Regions from separate parts of the Homo sapiens genome. Here region 2 is linked to region 1. The links are contacts of gene promoters, found by promoter capture Hi-C in human tissues and cell types (Jung and others, 2019). All regions are on one chromosome and are shown on one strand. The core of a region is centred on a gene start or on the middle of the fragment in contact, and the rest is flanking DNA. Distances in the headings are between cores, read along the strand shown. Region 1 holds the start of FBLN5 (fibulin 5). Region 2 has its middle 31 kb from the start of CATSPERB.

Region 1 (4,857 bases), core at 1,771-4,270:
TACATACAGGGAAGTGGATTTGGGTTCAACTGAAGAGAGAATTTTCTAACAGTTTGAGTTATTCAATAGTGAGATGGGCTGTTTTGTGGCGCTGTGATTTCCTCGTCCACAGAAGTGGATAATTTACTATTTATTAAGGATATTTTGGAGGGCATTGTGTAGGGAATGGGAACGTGGACACAGTGAAAATCAAGAGGATAACTGTTATTTCATTCCCGCAACAACCCTGGCGATGTTATCATCGCCATCTTGCAGATGAGAAAACTGAGATGTCGAGAGGGTAGGAGGAAAAACCAAGACTTGGACCCAAGTGTTTTATGGCAGTCTTCGTTTTCTCCCCCTTTCCAACCCTACAATTTTAAGATGGAAACAATCTCTCATCCAAGATGGGTCCCGGGACAGTTTTGCTTCCAACGGTCTCAATTTGCCTATGTAGGAAACAGGTATATTGATTTCCTCTCCTTCCGTGTTCTTCAAGAAGGTTGACAGTATCTGCGAGGTGAATGGACTGAGTCCCTTAAAACTCTTCCTACCCCCACAACTAGTTCTACATCAGATATTTTAAGTTTTATTATTTTGAATATTACTCATATTTTGAATAGGTAATACAGGTACAAGGTACAAAATTCAAGTTATGCCAAAAAGTGAGCAATGAGGAGCGAATTTTCCTCTCCTATTTCTTTTCCAATTGTCTGCCTGATTTCCCTCCTAGGAGATGGTTACAGACCATATGTTTAAACCCCCAGATTCATATGTTGAAATCTGAATCCCCAAGGTGATGGCTCTAGGAGATGAGGCCTTCAGCAGGTGATTAGATCATGAGGGTGAAGCTCTCACGAATGGGACCAGTGCCCTTATAAAAGGAATCCCAGTCTCTGGCCAGGCGCGGTGGCTCAAGCCTGTAATCTCAGCATTTTGGGAGGCCGAGGCCCATGGATTGCTTGAGCCCAGGAGTTCAAGACCAGCCTGGCCAACATGGCAAAACCCCATCTCTACTAAAAATACAAAAATTAGCCAGGCACGGTGGTGCGTGCCTATAATCCCAGCTACTTGGGAGGCTGAAGCAGGAGAATTGCCTGAACTTGGGAGGTAGAACTTGCAGTGAGCCGAGATTACACCACCATACTCCAGCCTGGGCGAGAGAGTGAGACTCCATCTCAAAAAAAGGAACCCTAGTCTCCCTCTCTCCATCATGTGAGGACATAGCAAGAAGACAGTCATCTGCAACCAGGAGAGGACCCTCATGAGAACCTGGCTATGCCCACACCCTGATCTCAGACTTCCAGCCTCCAGAACTGGGAGAGATAAATGTTATTGCATAAACCACCCAGTCTATGGTATTCTGTTATAGCAGCCTGAGCTAAGACCAATAATACTCATGGTTTCTTGTGCATCCTTCAGGTGATGTCTTTTCTGTACGTGTACAAGCAAGAACTTATGTATTTATTTTTTTTCCCACAAATGATGGCATGCTTTACACACAGTTCTGCAGCTTACTTTTTACATTTATTACTATATTAGATCAATCTATGTGAAATTACCAATATTCTACTGTTTTGACCCACAAAATATATTGGAAACCCTTCAATAGCAGTGCATACGGAGCTGTTTCAGTCTTTTTTTCAAAATAAGATATAACATACATAAGACTTCACAAATATTAAATGTACACACCCCTACATAACCAGCATCCAGATCAATCATTAGATTATTACCAGCACCCAGAAGGGGCTGGGCTGCCTCCCAGTCACTATCTGACTTTGAATTTTATATAAATGGAGTCGTTTGATGTGGACTCTTAAGTGTCTAGGTTTTAATTGGTTGCACAATAGTCCCTTTGGAAGCCCCTTACTTTATTTAACCCTATTGGTGCCTTGCTGATCGACCTTAAAGGTGTTTATAATCTTTTGCTTTTACAAACAATGGGGGGATGAACAACCTTATAAACATAAGGTATTTAAAAAAGTGTTTTACAGGAAATTTCAAACACGTAAAAGGAAATAGATTAGACTAGTATAATGGACACAGCTTCAACAACTATCCACATTCTGTTATTCTCCTTTGGGTAGAATTCCATTTACTTACCCCCAAAAATGCCTTAGGGAAGGCTAAATATGTAGACTCCAGAGGCTCAGCTGTACCAATGAATAGCTGCGTGACTATGGGGAGGTTACCTAACCTCTCTTATCTTCACCTCTAATAACATGGAGATGATCATTCCTACTGCTTAGAGTGGTGGTGAGGACAGGGGACCTGGATCAGGGCTTTTCGGCTGCAGGTAGGAAGATGCAGGTGGAAGCAGATGGGATAGGCCACAGTCCATCCACTGGCGTTTTATAGAGTGAGTGCCTTCTGTAAGATTTCATTGACAAAAGTACTCCAATGGCTTAAAAACAAACAAACAAACAAACAAACAAACAGGAAAAAGAAACAGGTTGAAGCCTCCACTAGAATGAATGCAAAGGACTCAGCATGTCTTATGTGCTGTCTCCACCATTCTGCTTTTCCAGACTGTCCCTTCTTCAAATCACCGTTTAACTTGTTAAAATCACTTTCGAGCCAGGGGACACTTTTCCAGGAAAGCGAGAAAATGCCAGGGAGAATCGGGGAATGAGGGCGGGGAGAGAAAAGCGTCCTAAGACTTGCATTGCACAAGCTGAAGTCTGGAATTCGCACCAGCGGGATTCCATCCTCTTCCCCCCCACCCCACCCCGCTGCTCCCCACCCCTTCTTCGGGAAGATCGCGACTCTCCCGTCGCTCGCCCCAAGCCTCTGCTTCGTAGGTTCTGGTTTCCCAATCGATCGTGAGTTTCTAGTCCCTGGAGCTGCGTGGGTCGTGAGTTCAAGTCCCTTTCCTTCCGGAGGCGACAACGTTCTCGCGGGTCCCCTTGCCACGCAGCGCGGGCGTGCACGCCCCTCCCCGCCGGGCCGCGCTGCCAGCCCCGCCCCGCCCCTGGGTGGGAAGGTCAAGGGGCCCGGGCCCTCCCAGCCCCCGCACCCCTGCGCGCGCCCGCCCCTCGCCTTCTGCCCGGGCGCTCGCAGCCGAGCGCGGCCGGGGAAGGGCTCTCCTCCCAGCGCCGAGCACTGGGCCCTGGCAGACGCCCCAAGATTGTTGTGAGGAGTCTAGCCAGTTGGTGAGCGCTGTAATCTGAACCAGCTGTGTCCAGACTGAGGCCCCATTTGCATTGTTTAACATACTTAGAAAATGAAGTGTTCATTTTTAACATTCCTCCTCCAATTGGTTTAATGCTGAATTACTGAAGAGGGCTAAGCAAAACCAGGTGCTTGCGCTGAGGGCTCTGCAGTGGCTGGGAGGACCCCGGCGCTCTCCCCGTGTCCTCTCCACGACTCGCTCGGCCCCTCTGGAATAAAACACCCGCGAGCCCCGAGGGCCCAGAGGAGGCCGACGTGCCCGAGCTCCTCCGGGGGTCCCGCCCGCGAGCTTTCTTCTCGCCTTCGCATCTCCTCCTCGCGCGTCTTGGACATGCCAGGAATAAAAAGGTGGGTTCTCGGCGCTGGACTTTTCTTTCTCCAGGGTCTGGAAGCCTTGCTAAAAATCCGATGGGTGGAAAATGGTTATGGCTGCGATTCAGGCGGTGTCAGGATATTGGAAAAGGCATGAGCTAGTGATGCAATGATATTGTTAATTATAAAAAGCTGCGCCTCTGTAATTTCCATCTTGAAGCGTTCTTTTGGGAGTGGGTATTTTCTAATACAGTTTCAAAAGCCAGCATCAGAGAGGGCTGCGAAATTCTCAGCGCTTCATTCCTCTTTCTTTTCTGGAAAGGGCAGCAACTTTGTCGTTTTAAGGGATTTTTGTATGTATTTTTTAAATTTCGGGAGGCCAATTACTAGTTCACTAGCAATTACTGCGCCGCATCGGCTGATAGACAAGCAGACAGGCTAGCTGAACACCGCGGGGCTGGATTTGCTCTATGTTTGTGTGGGATTCTCACAGAAGTTTCAAGCCAATGAGAAGTGGGAACTGCAGACAGAGATACATGTAAGCAAATGTTTTGCTATTCTTTAAGGAAATTGCAATTACAGTTAAGTAATCCTTAAGTCTTGGAGAACTTTACCTAAATGACACCCACAGTCTTTATTCAGCGAGCTCTTGAAAACATACTGCTTTGAACAAATTAACCTTGTGTGCGTATGTATGTGTCTGTGGGGTGTGTGTGTGTGTGTGTGTGTGCTGAAAACTAAGCTGTAACAATGTCATCCTGGATTGGGGACCAGCACTTCTGTGACAGGCAGTCCTGGTATTTGGTTGGTCTCTCCGGCTTTCCTTGTGTTTCAGGCTGAGGCACAACACCGGCGAACCCACCTGCTTTAGAAAGTTCCCAGGACCGGTTATGAGCACCAACCTGCCTCCCCCCAGCTATTCTTATAGTTAGTTCATTTTTGGAGTTTCCAGGGTTTTTTTTTTTTAATCACAAGGTGCAGCTATTCGTGATGCTGTGAGGCAGTAGTGCTTGGGTATTCTTTCATTTTAGGAAAATCCTATTAGCCTGGAACCTGTTTGGCCCCCAGGACTCAGCTGTGGCTCTTCCAAGAGGCTGGGCTTGAGGCAAGACCTGTCCCAGGGCTGCCTCTAGCCAAAGGGAATGGGGCTGCGGGGAGTAGGGGGAAAGATGGGGTTAGCATGCCTTTTCAACTAGCTCTTGAAGTCCACTGTGTTGCAGTCAGCCTGTTCTTTCTCCAACATAAACGAGACAGGGTTTTATAACCAACTGAAAGGAAACTTCATGTGAAGAAACAGGAAAACATTGAAATTCATAATACACAGACTGGAAAATAAATTTGTTATTGTTCTTTCATTCCTTCCAGATATAAATCTGGCCATGGCAAATATCA
Region 2 (4,662 bases), core at 1,213-3,712, 180 kb after region 1:
TTGATTATTTCTTTTGCTGTGGAGAAACTTTTTAGTTTATTGAAGTCCCATTTTTCTATTTTGTGTGTGTTTTTTTTTTTTTTTTGCAATTGTTTTTGAGGTCTTAGTCATGAATTCTTTGCCTAGGTCAATGTCCAGAAGAGTTTTCCCTAACAGGTTTTCTTCTAATTTGAAGTTGATAATGTGATGCCTCTAGCTTTGTTCTTTTTGCTTAGGATTGCTTTGGTAATTTGGACTCTTTTTTGGTTCCATATGGATTTTAGGACTGGTTTTTCTAATTCTGTGAAAAATGATATTGATATTTTGATAGGAATTGCATTGAATCTGTAGATTTCTTTGAGCAGTATGATCATTTTAATGATATTGTTTCTTCTATTCCATGAGCCTGAAATATTTTTCCATTTGTTTATGTCATCTGTTAATACTTTTTAAAAATTAGTGTTTTATAGTGTTTCTTATAGAGATCTTCACCTCCTTCATTAAATAATATATTCCTAGATATATGTTTTAATCTAGTGTAAATGGGATTGAGTTCTTGATTTGGTTCTCAACTTGATCATTCTTGATATATAGAAATGCTACTGATTTTTATACATTGGTTTTGTATTCTGAAACTTTACCGAATCCATCTATCAAATCTAGGAGCCTTTTAGAGGCATCTTTAGGGCTTTTCTAGGTATAAGCTCATATTGTCAGCAAACAGATAATTTAACTTTCTTGTTTCCAATTTGGATACCTTTTATTTCTTCCTCTTGCCTGAGTGCTCTGGCTAGGACTCCCAGTAGTATGTTGAATAGGAGTGGTGAAAGTGGGTATCCTTGTCTTGTACCAGTTTTTAGGGGGAATACCTTTAACTTTTCCTCATTCTGTATGATGTTGGCTGTGGGTTTGTCATATATGCTTTTTATTATTTTGTATAATGATCTTTTATACCTCTTTTTTTAGGACTTTTATCATGAAGGGATGCTGAATTTCATCAAATGCTTTTTCTGCATCTATTGAGATGATCGTATGGTTTTTGTTTTAATTCTGTTGATGTGGTGAATCACATTTATTGACTTGTGTTTGTTGAACTCTCCTTGCATCCCTGGAATAAAACCTACTTGATTGTGGTATATTATCTTTTTGATGTGCTGTTAGATTCAGTTTGCTAGTATTTTGTTGAGGGTTTTTGCATCTGTGTTCATCAGGGATATTGATCTATAGTTTTTGTTGTTGTTGTTGTTGTTATGTCCTTGTCTGGCTTTGATATCAGGGTGATACAGGCTTTGCAGAATGAGTCAGGAAGGATTCCTCAATTTTGGGGAACATTTTGAGGAGGTTCAGTACCAGTTCTTCTTTGAACTGTCTTGGAGAATGCTCCATGTGCTGATGAGAACAATATACATTCTGCTGTTTTTGGGTAGAATCTTCTGTAAATGTCTGTCAAGTTCATTTGGTCTAAAGTCCAATTAAAGTCCAGTGTTTGTTAATTTTCTGTCTTGATGATCTCTCTAGTGCTGAGTTAGGTGTTGACATTCCCTACTATTATTGTATTGCTGTCTATTACCCTCTTTAGGTCTAGTAATATTTGTTTTTATGAATCTGGGTGCTATAGCATTGGGTGCATATATATTTAGGATTGTTATATCCTCTCATTGAATTGATCCCTTTAGCATTGTATAATAACTTTTTTTGGTAGTTTTTTTTTTACTGTTGTTGATTTAAAGTCTGTTTTATCTGATATAAGTATAGCTATTCCTGCTCACTTTTGGTTTCCATTTGCATGGAATATCTTTTTCTACCACTTTACCTCCTTACTGTAAGTGTCTTTATCAGTAAGGTGAGTTTCTTGTAAGCAGCATATAGTTCGTTCATGTTTTTTTTTTTTAATCCATTCCATGAATCTATATATTTTAAGTGTAGTGTTTAATACATTTACGTTCAAGGTTAATATTGATATGTGAGGTTTTGTTTCTAGTATGTTATTAATTGTTATCTAGTTTCTTTGTAGATTCTTTGGTTTTTTTTTTTTTTGTCCATCTGTCTTTGTGATTTGGTCATTTGTTGTTTTGTCATTTGATTTCTTCCCCTGTCCTCTCTGTGTGATTGTTTTATAAGACCTATGAGTTTTATACTGTAAACCAAAAATAAAATACTAAGCCCCCCCTCAACCATCTGAATGGACTTCCTCCTCAACCAAGGCTCTTTTAATATTTAACCTGAGAGACTGTTTCAGGCCATGATGGGAAATGAGGGTTGGTTATGCCTCATTATACCTCTCTGGCATTAACATCAACACAGACTTTAAGTCTGATAAGAAACATTTTACAACCTATGATCTCTGAAGCCTAGTACCTGAAGACTTCCTCTGCAAATAAGAACTTGGGTCTCCACAATCCTTTATCTTAACCCAGACGTTCCTTTCTATTGATCCCAGGTCTTTAGATAAACCCAACCAATTGTCAATCAGAAAGTTTTTAAATCTACCTATAAGCAGGAAGCCCCCACTTCAAGTTGTCCTGCATTTCTGGACCAAACCAATGTATTTCTTAAATTTTTTTTATTGAAGTCTCATGTCTCCCTAAAATATATAAAACCAAGCTGCATCCTAACCACCTTGGGCACATGTTCTCAGGACCTCCTGAGGGCTGTGTCATGGGCCATGGTCACTCATATTTGGCTCAGAATAAGTTTCTTCAAATATTTTACAGAGTTTAACTCTTTTCATTGACAATACTGTCATATGTTTTTATGATGGCAAATATTGATCTTTCACTTCCATGTTTAAAACTCCTTTAACATTTATGGTAGGACTGGTCTAGTGGTAACAAATTCCTTGGGTATTTGCTTCTCTGGGAAAGACTTCATTTTGCCTTCATTTATAAAGCTTATTCCAGCAGGATACAAGATTAGTGGTTGGCAGTTTTTTCTTTAAGCACTTTGAAAATAGAATCCCAATCTCTTCTGGCTTCTGAAGTTTCTGCCGAGAAGTCTGCTGTTAGTATGATGGAGTTTCCTTAATAGGTGATGTGTTAGGCCATTTTTGCATTGCTATAAATAAATACCCAAGGCTGAGTATTTTATAAAGTATTTAGCTCATGGTTCAGCAGTCTGTATAAGCATGTTACCAGAATCTGCTTGGCTTCTGGTGAGGCCTCAGGAAACTTACAGTCATGGAGGAAGGTGAATGAGAACTATTGTGTCACATGGCAAGAGCAGGAGCAAGAAAGAGATAGGGGAGGTGCTACACTCTTTTAAACAACCGGATCTCATATGAATCCATCACCACTAATTATCTCAGGGAGGGCACAAAGCTATTCATGGGGAATCTGCCCCCGTGAGCCAAACACCTCCCACTAGGCTCCACCTCCAACAATGAGAATTATATTTCAACATGAGATTTGGAGTGAGAAAACATCCAAACTGTATCAGGCGACTAGCTGCTTTCCTCTTGCAGAATTTAGGATTTTTTTCCTTCATGTTAACTTTAGATGATCTGATGACTATATGTTGTCGTGAGGCAACATGTTTTCCTAGAGTTCACTGGGCCTCTTATATCTGAATGTCTAAATCTCTTGGTAGACTAGAGAAGTTTTCCTCAATTATTTTCTCGAATACTTTTTTTTTTTTTTTTTTTTTGAGACGGAGTCTTGCTCCGTCGCCTGGGCTGGAGTACAGTGGTGCGATCTCGGCTCACTGCAAGCTCCGCCTCCTGGGTTCACGCCATTCTCCTGCCACAGCCTCCTGAGTAGCTGGGACTATAGGTGCCCACCACCACGCCCGGCTAATTTTTTGTACTTTTTTAGTAGAGACGGGGTTTCACCATGTTAACCAGGATGGTCTCCATCTCCTGACCTCGTGATCCGCCAGCCGCCCACCTCGGCCTCCCAAAGTTCTGGGATTACAGGCGTGAGTCAAATAGTGTTTCTAAACTTTTTGCTTTTTCTTCTCCCTTGGGAATGCCTGTGATTTATCAGTTTGCTTGTTTTATGTAGTCCCATACTTCTTTAAGGCTTTGCTTATTCTTTTAAATTCTTTTTTCTCTATTTTCTTCTCACTGGATTAATTCAGTGAGAAAAAAAGCCCAGTCATTGCATTCTAAGATTCTTTCTTCTGTTTGGTCTAGTCTATTATTGAATATTTCAACTGTATTTTGTAATTCTTTCAATGAATTTTTCATTTCCAGAATTTTTTTTTTTTTTTTTTTGAGACAGAGTCTTGCTCTGTTGCCCAGGCTGGAGTGCAGTGGCACAATCTTGGCTCACTGCAACCTCCACCTCCCAGCTTCAAATGATTCTTGTGCCTCAGCCTACTGAGTAGCTGAGATTACAGGTGTGTGCCACCATGCCTGACTAATTTTTTAATATTTTTAGTAGAGTTGGGGTTTCACCATGTTGGCCAGGCTGGTCTCAAACTCCTGACCTCAAGCAGTCTTCCCACTTCGGTCTCCCAAAGTGCTGGGATTACAGGCATGAGCCACTGTGCTCAGCCCAGTTGCTGCTTCTTATTTTTAATTTTACCTTCATTAGGGTGGGACTTTTTTTTCTTGAGGATGCGACTATGGTGTTTGTTAAGTAGGGTCATTTGGCTTTGCTTCTGGGTACATTCAGTGGCATAGATTTTGTATGATTTCCTTGGTTATAAGTAACCTGTGTGGTAGCTTTCTCAAATGCCAAGTGT

Evidence for each region. The method cuts DNA at HindIII sites, captures the fragments that hold promoters and counts their contacts. A contact is called where the count stands out against the background at its distance.
Region 2: a contact is called between a fragment that was not itself captured here and the fragment with the promoter of FBLN5 in region 1, in 3 of the 25 tissues and cell types used here (aorta, mesendoderm cells and pancreas).

Annotation. Positions count from the first base shown.
Region 1 is chr14:91,945,857-91,950,713 of GRCh38, reverse strand. It overlaps FBLN5 (fibulin 5), which reads left to right and starts at 3,020. Exons shown (of 11, transcript NM_006329.4): 1 at 3,020-3,501. The coding sequence starts at 3,485. The HindIII fragment of the contact is 12,789 bases long and covers 1-4,857 here.
Region 2 is chr14:91,760,630-91,765,291 of GRCh38, reverse strand. No RefSeq gene overlaps it. Among named protein-coding and RNA genes, the nearest start is that of CATSPERB, 31 kb to the right of the region's middle. The HindIII fragment of the contact is 5,541 bases long and covers 1-4,662 here.